Linked DNA regions of Homo sapiens: all the other regions are linked to region 3. The links are contacts of gene promoters, found by promoter capture Hi-C in blood cells and fetal thymus (Javierre and others, 2016). All regions are on one chromosome and are shown on one strand. Each heading gives the region's core, a stretch centred on a gene start or on the middle of the fragment in contact. The rest is flanking DNA. Distances are from core to core; before and after follow the strand shown. Region 1 overlaps TMEM108 (transmembrane protein 108). Region 2 has its middle 26 kb from the start of TMEM108. Region 3 holds the start of BFSP2 (beaded filament structural protein 2).

Evidence for each region. Contacts are between HindIII fragments. The CHiCAGO score rates a contact against its expected background, and 5 or more counts as called.
Region 1: a fragment that was not itself captured here is called in contact with the fragment with the promoter of BFSP2 in region 3 in 2 of 17 cell types (megakaryocytes and endothelial precursors); the score reaches 6.4 in megakaryocytes.
Region 2: a fragment that was not itself captured here is called in contact with the fragment with the promoter of BFSP2 in region 3 in 1 of 17 cell types (erythroblasts); the score reaches 5.1 in erythroblasts.

The regions. Positions count from the first base shown.
Region 1 is chr3:133,078,980-133,081,980 of GRCh38, forward strand. All of the region lies in intron 2 of TMEM108 (transmembrane protein 108), which reads left to right. Among named protein-coding and RNA genes, the nearest start is that of TMEM108, 42 kb to the left of the region's middle. The HindIII fragment of the contact is 738 bases long and covers 1,135-1,872 here.
Region 2 is chr3:133,010,829-133,013,844 of GRCh38, forward strand. No RefSeq gene overlaps it. Among named protein-coding and RNA genes, the nearest start is that of TMEM108, 26 kb to the right of the region's middle. The HindIII fragment of the contact is 3,567 bases long and covers 1-3,016 here.
Region 3 is chr3:133,398,589-133,401,887 of GRCh38, forward strand. It overlaps BFSP2 (beaded filament structural protein 2), which reads left to right and starts at 1,468. Exons shown (of 7, transcript NM_003571.4): 1 at 1,468-1,984. The coding sequence starts at 1,496. The HindIII fragment of the contact is 8,153 bases long and covers 1-3,299 here.

The DNA of each region.
Region 1 (3,001 bases), core at 254-2,753, 320 kb before region 3:
GCCATTAAATTGAGAAGAGAAGACAAACTTGCAAAATATAATAATAGTTATATAAATATTGAATTCAGCGAGAAGTGCCGGTGGTATATAATTAGGTTCTAGAAGAATGGATCAGATAGCTGTGACTTACGAAGGGGAAGACATAATTGCTGACTGCATTTTACTAAACCATTTATTTCCTCCTGGATTTGTTCCCTGTGTGTAAAGAGGGGCCTTCAACCCTGGTCAGGTGAGATGGAATATGCAATGCATATACATTTATCTGGAACTTTGTCCAGAGAATGGGTCTTTCAAAAAACAGAGTTACATAAATCCTCTCAGTGATTCTTTGGGGATTGTTGAGATGTTCGTCATTATCTTTATTTTGCAGGTGCCTTAGTCCGTTTGGGTTGCTATACCAGAATAATATAGACTAGGTGGCTTGTAAACAACAGAAATGGATTTCTTACAGTTGTGTAGGCTGGAAGTCCAAGATCAAGGTGGCAAGCTGATTCAATATCTGATGAGGGTCCGCTTCTGGTTTACAGGTAGCCATCTACTTTCTTTGTCCTCACGTGGCAGAAAGGAGCAAAGGTCCTCTCTGGAGTCCCTCTTACAAGGGCACTCATCCCATTCTTGAGAGTTCATGATCTAATCATGTCTGAAAGGCCCTATGTCCAGGTACCATCACATTAGGATTAGGTTCAGCATGTGAATTTTGGGAGGACACAAACATTCTGTTTATGGCAGCAGGTAAGGAACTGCAGGTCAGAAGGGCCCCAGCAAAGTATCATTCTGAAATGAATGACAGATGGGACAGGCACGAAGCTTGAAAGCGAGGAATAAGGGTGTGTCTTGCTTGACTGTGACCGTCTTGCTTACCTGCTGAGGCAGAGGTGCTAGGTATGCCTTCTCTTCAAGGCAGGGCCTCATCATGTAAAGGAGCTTCTGGGTGGAGGCTGAGTGCTTTCTCTATATAGCCAGAGGCCTCACTCCAATGCTTGGGGTGTGAGATCTAAGTTTTGCACAGATGTCTTCTTGCTACAGGCCAAGGCCACAATTAGGGGGAATGGACTCTTTCCACATACTTACTTGTCATCTCGTCCAAGGTAGATGCTTGATAAAATAGTGCTGTATGCTAAAGTGAGCTGCCTAAGCTTCCCTACACATGAAAAAGAAGCCTAGAGGAGAGCACAGATGGGGGACCGTTCAACTGCATTCCCAAGAGCATTATCCCTAACAGGGATAATGGCAGGATGTCCACTGTCTGCGGCCCCTTCTTTTGCCATTCTTTTACATTCATTGCTGTAGAGGGTATAAATAGGAATAAGGAACTGATGGCTATGTGAAGGTGAATTTCAAACTCTTTGAGTTGTGATTAACTTCCAGAGGCCTCAAAATAACTGATTTACATAAAGTATGATGCAGAAACTAAGCCACTCATTTACATCTTCACCATATTTTTTGCATGTAAGGACATATGTTGGTTACCTTTGGTCTTGACAATAACTTCAAGGAAGGAATGCTTTGTCTAATCCTTGTTCCTTCTTCAAGGCCCAACTCAAACACTTTCTCCCCTGGAATCCTTCCCAGAGCTCTTTAGTCAGAATTAATGATCCTATATACCTTTCCATAGCTCTTTGTTCATATCTCTTCACATATTTGGTTATTCACATGTGTGTTCATTTCCTTCATTCAACTCATATATTGTTTTTTTTTACACTCAGAAGCTGAAATTAGTAGACACTTAGTGCTACATGCTGATTGTAAAGTGTATATCTAGAGGAAAGCCAGTACAGTTCAATGTACCCAGTGTGAAGTACTTTCATCCTAGTACTTAATATTTGGATATTTTCTCCATTTTTTTTAAATACTAGGACTTGCGTGAATGAAAGCTTAGTCTCTAGATAGACACAAGTAGGGTCTCTTCACATGAAAAAGGAACTCATCCTCTTCCCCTTTAGCTCCTTAAAGCTTCTCCTCTGGGTGGCAGAGTCGTTTGATGAAAGGAACATGAACTTTAAGCTGACCAGATGGGTGATCTTGGGTAAGTTATTCTTATCTTTCCACATAACAACTTCTCGGATATAAAATGTGGATAATTACAGTTTCCTTGAACAGTTCCATAGCACAGTGTCGTCACTTCTCATGCCTTCATCCATACCTTCATCATTTCTCATCTGGACGTTTCACTGGAAGATGACTGTCCTAGCTCAGGCTGCCATCACAAAATACCATAGACTGGGCGGTTTGACAAGAGAAATTTGTTTTCTCACAGTTCTGAATGCGGGAAATTTGAGATCAGGGTACCAGTATGGTCAGAATATGGTGAGGGTTTTCTTCCCAGTTTGCAGATGGCCACCTCCTTGACGTGTTCTCACACGGCAGAAAGGGAAAGAATAAGCACTCTGGTATCTCTTCTTATAAAGGCACTAATCTCATCATAGGGGCCTCACCCTCATGACCTCATCTAAATCTAATTACCTCCCAAAGACTCCATCTACAAATACTATCACATTAGGGCTTCAACATATGAATTTGGGGGGAACGCAATTCAGTTCACAGCAATGATTGTGCCATTCCTTCAATCCATTCTTGCTATATGGAATATAGATCTGTCACATTTCCCTGCAGGCCAGAATAAAATTCACATTTCTTTGCATAACACTTGTAACTCTGACTCTTATTTAATGCTTCAGCATTGTATCTCTCTGCCTTCATGTTGGTTGGTTCTTCCAGGAAGCAGACACCAACATGGGATTAGAAATGCAAAAGATCTATTGGGGAAAGATAATAGGGAAAGGGAAAAAGAGTAGGTAGGGAAACTTTAGACTGCAATACCAAGTGAGACACATGAAAAAGAAAGGAATCAAGTACAATCAGATAGGAAGAGCATTGTACTGCAATGTAACTCTGAGCAACAAGGAACTTTTGTGCAAAGATCATCTATAGAGGAGTCCCCATTGGTTGGGAGTGGCAAGCCTTGCTTGGTTATTGGCTGGAGCTACCTTAGTAGAGCATG
Region 2 (3,016 bases), core at 176-2,675, 390 kb before region 3:
TCACAAGAATAGCACAGGAAAGACCAACCCCCATGATTTAATTACCTCCCCCTGGGTCCCTCCAACAAATGGGAATTCTGGGAGATACAATTCAAGTTGAGATTTGGGTAGGGACATAGCCAAACCATATCATTCCACCCCCGGTCCCTCCAAATCTCATGTTCTCACATTTCAAAACCAATCATGCCTTCCCAACAGTGCCCCAAAGTCTTAACTCAATTAAGCATTAATCCAATTAATTCAGCATTAATCCAAAAGTCCACAGTCCAAAGTCTCATCTGAGATAAGGCAAGTCCCTTCCACCTGTGAGCCTGTAAAATCAAAAGCAAGCTAGTTACTTCCTAGATACAATGGGGTACAGGTATTGGGTAAATACAGCCATTCCTTATGGGAGAAATTGGCCAAAACAAAGGGGTTACAGGGCCTATCCAAGTCCAAAATCCAGCAGGGTAGTCACATTTTAAAGCTCCAAAATGATCTCCTTTGACTCCAGGTCTCACATCCAGGTCACACTGATGCAAGAGGTGGGTACCCATGGTCTTGGACAGCTCCGCCCCTGTGTCTTTGCAGGGTACAGCCTCCCTCTTGGCTGCTTTCATGGGCTGGTGTTGTGTCTGCAGCTTTTCCAGGTACACGGTGCAAGCTGTCAGTGGATCTACCATTCTGGGGTCTGGAAAATGGTGGCCCTCTTCTCACAGCTCCACTAGGAAGTGCCCCAGTAGGGACTCTGTGAGGGTGCTCCGATCCCACATTTTCCTTCAGCACTGCCCTAGCAGAGGTTCTCCATGAGGGCCCTGCCTCTGCCACAAACTTTTGCCTGGGCATTCAGGCTTTTCCATACATCTTCTGAAATCTAGGCAGAGGTTTCCAAACCTCAATTTTTGAATTCTGTGCATAAGCAGGCACAGCAGCACATGGAAGCTGCCAAGGCTTGGGGCTCCCACCCTCTGAAGCCACAGCTTGAGCTCTGTGTTGGCCCCTTTCATCCACAGCTAGAGTGGCTGGGACACAGGGCACCAAGTCCCTAGGCTGCACATAGCAGGGGCACCCTGGGCCTGGCCCATGAAACCACTTTTTCCTCCTGGGCCTCCAGGCCTGTGATGGGAGGGGCTGCCATGAAGGTCTCTGACATGGTCTGGAGACATTTTCCTCATGGTCTTGGGGATTAACATTAGGCTTCTTGCTACTTACGCACATTCTGGCAGCCAGTTTGAATTTCTTCTGAAAAAAATGGTTTTTTTCCCACTGCATCACCAGGCTGCAAATTTTCTGAACTTTAATGCTCTGTTTCCCTTTTAAAACATAATGCTTTTAACAGCACCCAAGTTGCCTTTTGAATGCTTTGCTGCTTAGAAATTTCTTCCCCCAGATACCCTAAATCATCTCTCTCAAGTTCAAAGTTCTACAAATCTCTAGGGCAGGAACAAAATGCCGCTAGTCTCTTTGCTAAAACATAATAAGAGTCACCTTTGCTCCAGTTCCCAACAGGTCCCTCATCTCCATCTGAGACCACCTCAGCCTGAACCTTATTGTTCATATCACTATCAGCATTTTTGCCAAAGCCATTCAACAAGTCTCTAGGACGTTCCAAACTTTCCCACATTTTTCTGTCTTCTTCTGAGTCCCCCAAATTGTTCCAACCTCTGCCTGTTACCCAGTTCCAAAGTCACTTCCACATTTTTGGGCCCATTTTTGGGTATATTTTCAGCAGTGCCCGACTCTACTGGTACCAATTTTACGGTATTAGTTCATTTTCATGCTGCTGATAAAGGCAAACCCGAAACTGGGAATAAAAAGAGGTTTAATTGGACTTACAGTTCCGTATGGCTGGGGAGGCTTCAGAATCATGGCAGCAGGCAAAAGGCACTTCTTACATGGTGGTGGCAAGAAAAAAAATGAGGAGGAAGCAAAAGTGGAAACCCTTGATAAACCCATCAGATCTCATGAGACTTACTATCACAAAAATAGCATGGGAAAGACCAGCCCCCATGATTCCATTTCATCCTCCTGGGTCCCTCCCACAACAAGTAGGGATTCTGGGAGATACAATTCAAGTTAAGATTTGGGTGGTGGGGACACAGCCAAACCATATCACTTGGCCAGGCCCAGGACCCTGCTGATCTGTGCAGCCACAGAACACTTCACCCTGCATCCCAGCTGCTCCAGCTCCAGCCATGGTTCAAAGGGGCCCAGGTACACCCAATATCCCAGCTGCTCCAGCTCTAGCTGCTTCAAAAGGTGCAAGCATAAACCTTGGTGGCTTACAGTGTTAAACCTGTGGGCACTCAGAGTGCAATACTTGAGGCTTGGGAGCCTCCACCTGAATGTCAGAGGTTGTATAGAAAAGTCTAGATATATAGGCAGGAGCCTGTTGCAAGGGTGGAGCCCTCATGGGGAACCTCTACTAGGGAAGTGCAGAGGGGAAATGAGGGGTTGCAGCCACCACACAAAGTCCCCACTGGGGCACTGCCTAGTGGAGCTGTGAGAAGAGGGCCACTGTCCTCTAGACCCCAGAATGGTAGATCCATTGACAGCTTGCATCCTACACCTGGAAAAGCCACAAGTACTCATCATCAACCCATGAGAGCAGCCACAGGGTTTGCACCCTGCAAAGAGAGAGGGGTGGAGCTGCCCAAGTCCTTGGGAGCCCACCTTTTGCATCAGTGTGCCTTGGATGTAAGACATGGAGTCAAAGGAGACTATTTTGGAGCTTTAAAATCTAACGACTGAGGCGGGAGCAGTGGCTCACACCTGTAATCCCAGCACTTTGGGAGGCCGAGGCAGGTGGATCACAAGGTCAGGAGTTTGAGACCAGCCTGGCCAGCATGGTGAAACCCTGTCTCTACTAAAAATACAAAAAATTAGCTGGGCATGGTGGCACGTGCCTATAGTCCCAGCTACTCAGGAGGCTGAGGCAGGAGAATTGCTTGAACCCAGCAGGCGGAGGTTGCAGACTGCACTCCAGACTGGGTGACAGAGCAAGACTCTGTCTCAAAACAAACAAAAAAAATTAATG
Region 3 (3,299 bases), core at 218-2,717:
AGGTACTCTGCTCTCTGGGTGGTGGGCAACAGGGAGGCTCCTAAGTAAGTCAGTGGCCCAGAGTTTGGAAGAGGTTGTCTGCCCCCAGCTCTGCTACTTTCTGGACATAGAACCTTGGGCAAGTCATTGCAGCTCTCGGGGTCCTCCTCACATAAGAGGACAGTGGCCAACTGTAGGACATGTCATTTTAGAGCTGTGAGGTACACAGCCCATATGGCAGTACCTGTCAACCCTGGACCTCCTTCCTCCTGAGGTTGAGTTGAGAATTCCACGAAATAAACCATAGGATTCATGCACACACCAGGCTGGATCTGCTACTCACTAGAGATTGACTCCCTTCTCCTTCTCTCACCTGAGGTACATTCCTACATTACAGCATCTGGAAAAGTATCCAGCTCTGGGGTTTGGTGACCTGGTTTCTCCAGGGTAAAACTTATGTACAGAGGTTTTTAGGTCCATGTTGTCATCCTGTAACTGGGGGAACCTTTCTGATCCTAGAGAAGTGATTGAGGTGTGACCCTTGGTGGCTTAGTGGATGCCAAGGTCAATAATTAAAACCCAGGGGTGTCATCATATCCTAACTTGGGGCACCCTTGGAGAGGCTTACCAGAAAACACCCTCGTTGTTGTTTTTATTTCTCAGTTTTCCAACAGATGGAGAAGCAGAGGTGTAGGGAATGGCCGGAACATGTGTGGGATCTGAATTTGCCCAAGGTCCTTATCTGGTGCATCAGAGAGTTAAAGGCCCAAGCCAATGTTCAGACAGTGAGGTCCAGAGGGAGGAAGCATCCTGGCCAACAGCAAGCAGCTGATGAACAGCAGAGCATTAGAGGACAGAGATGAGGAGGAAAGGAGAGAGGTGAGGGAAGGACCTGAAGCTGCTGCCAGGACTGAGAGAGGAAACCATAGGCAAGTCTTTTCTCTTGGGTCCCTGGAGCTGCCTCCTGCCATTTTTCATCCTCTATTGCCTGTGTGGACATGTGTTCACATTCACATGTGCCAGCACACATAGGGATGTAGAAAGCCCTGAAATAGCTAGATTGAGTCCTAGCTTGTAATCTGAGGTCTGGGGCAAGTGATCAGTACACTTGTCATCTGAGGTCCTTGAGCCTCAGTTTACTCATCTGTAAAATGGGGTTGCTTGATGCCTGCCTTGCCCACTTAGGTAGTAAAATGCACAAACCCAAATGGTCTACCTCCACAGCCTGCACTGATCCAGCCTCCCCCACCACCAGCAGAATAATCTGGGAGGTTGGGCACATGACCCTGCATCAAAGAATGCATGAGTGCCTCTCTGCACACAGCCCTGGGCAGTGCCCATTTCTCTTTCAGCTCAGTGAATGATGGAAACTCATGGAAGACAGCAGACAAAGCAGCCCCAGGGATAGGGGAGATTCCAGAGAGGCCCGTGACCAGGCCACAGGGATGCTGGGGCTGTAAACCAAAAGCCACTGGACTCTGTAAACCCACTGGGCACCACAGAGGCAGAAGGGGTGATGAGTGAGAGGCGAGTGGTAGTGGACTTGCCCACCAGTGCCAGCTCCAGCATGCCCCTCCAGAGGCGCAGGGCGTCCTTCAGGGGGCCACGGTCATCATCCTCCCTGGAGAGCCCCCCAGCCTCCAGGACCAATGCCATGAGTGGCCTTGTCCGAGCACCCGGGGTCTATGTAGGAACAGCACCCAGTGGGTGCATAGGTGGCTTGGGTGCCCGTGTGACCCGCCGGGCCCTCGGCATCAGCAGTGTCTTCCTTCAGGGCCTGCGGAGCTCAGGCCTGGCCACCGTGCCGGCTCCAGGTTTGGAGAGGGACCATGGTGCTGTTGAGGACCTAGGGGGCTGCCTGGTGGAATATATGGCCAAAGTGCACGCCCTTGAGCAAGTCAGTCAGGAGCTGGAAACACAACTGCGGATGCACCTGGAGAGCAAAGCCACACGCTCGGGAAACTGGGGTGCCCTACGGGCTTCCTGGGCCAGCAGCTGCCAGCAGGTAAGTGTCCAGGCTGTGCCAAGGGCTTTGCAGAGGGCTGGGAGGGGCTGCTGAAGGCAGCGGGTAGGGTTGTGAGTAGGCTGAGGCCAGAGAAACTGACCATAATCCCCTACACTTTCACACTTAAAATGGTAATGATAACAACAATGCTACCTTTTACCGAGGTTTACTAGGAGCCCACGCTAGCCCCCATACGTGCACTACCCACTGTCTTCTTTAAACTTCAAAGAAATGCTATGCAGTGGATCATTCACTGATTGCATTTTTCAGATGAGAAACTGAGGCATGTAATTTGCCCAAGACTTCAAAGCTAGTAGAGGGATGGAGATGAGATTTGAACCTGAATTTTTGTGCCTCCAAAGTTGCATTTGCCCCATTACCCTGGGGCTGCCTCAGTCACCTTTACTGTTGAGAAGGGATTTTTACAGCTATTATCCAATCAAATACCATTGGATGGATGAGGTGTTAAGAACAATGAATAAATGGAGGTGTGTTCCTGTATCCACCTACAACCACGCTGTTCAATAGAAATATGAACTACATTGGTAATTGACAAGTTTCTATTACCCACAGTAAAACACGTAAAAAGAAGCAGGTGAAGTTAATATTATAGCTTATTTAACTCTATATGTCCAGAATGTTATTTCAACATGTAATCAATACAAAATATATTAATGAGGTAATTTACATTCAAGTAGAGCTTTCTGCGTGATGGAAATATTAATATCTTATATCTGCACTGTCCAATCTGGCAGCCACTAGCCATATATGGCTATCAAGCACTTGAAATGTGGCTAATGAGACTGAGGAATTGCATTTTTATTTTATCTAATTTTCATTAATTTAAATGTAAACAGCCACAGGTAGCTAATGGCTATCTTATTGGACAGGGAAGGATGCAGAGGTTTCATCTTTCTCCCTTGCTTGGTCAGCCCTGCTTTTCCCACTCTCCAGGGTGATTTCTGCGGAGTCTGGAGCACATCCATCATGTCTGGCCTGCAGCCTGTAGTTCTAATGCTGGGACTCCAGCCAGCATTACACCTCTCAGCTGGTCTCTCTGTGGATAGCTGGCTTCACCTCTCCTCCTCCTCTTTCTCTCCAGATGCTGGCCTTGGGATCCCTCTGAGCAAAATCAGTCTCTAACCCACCAGGGACTGCCAACTCAGACCCTTGGCCCCCTGGAGTCCAGTATGCAGCCTCCCAAGAGGAGGTCACAAAATTTTATTTGTGTATAGCTGGGGGAAGCTAAGCAGTTGCACACAGGGACTCCCCATTTGCCCCTCCTGCCTCCCACTTCATCCCAGGATGCTTCTCC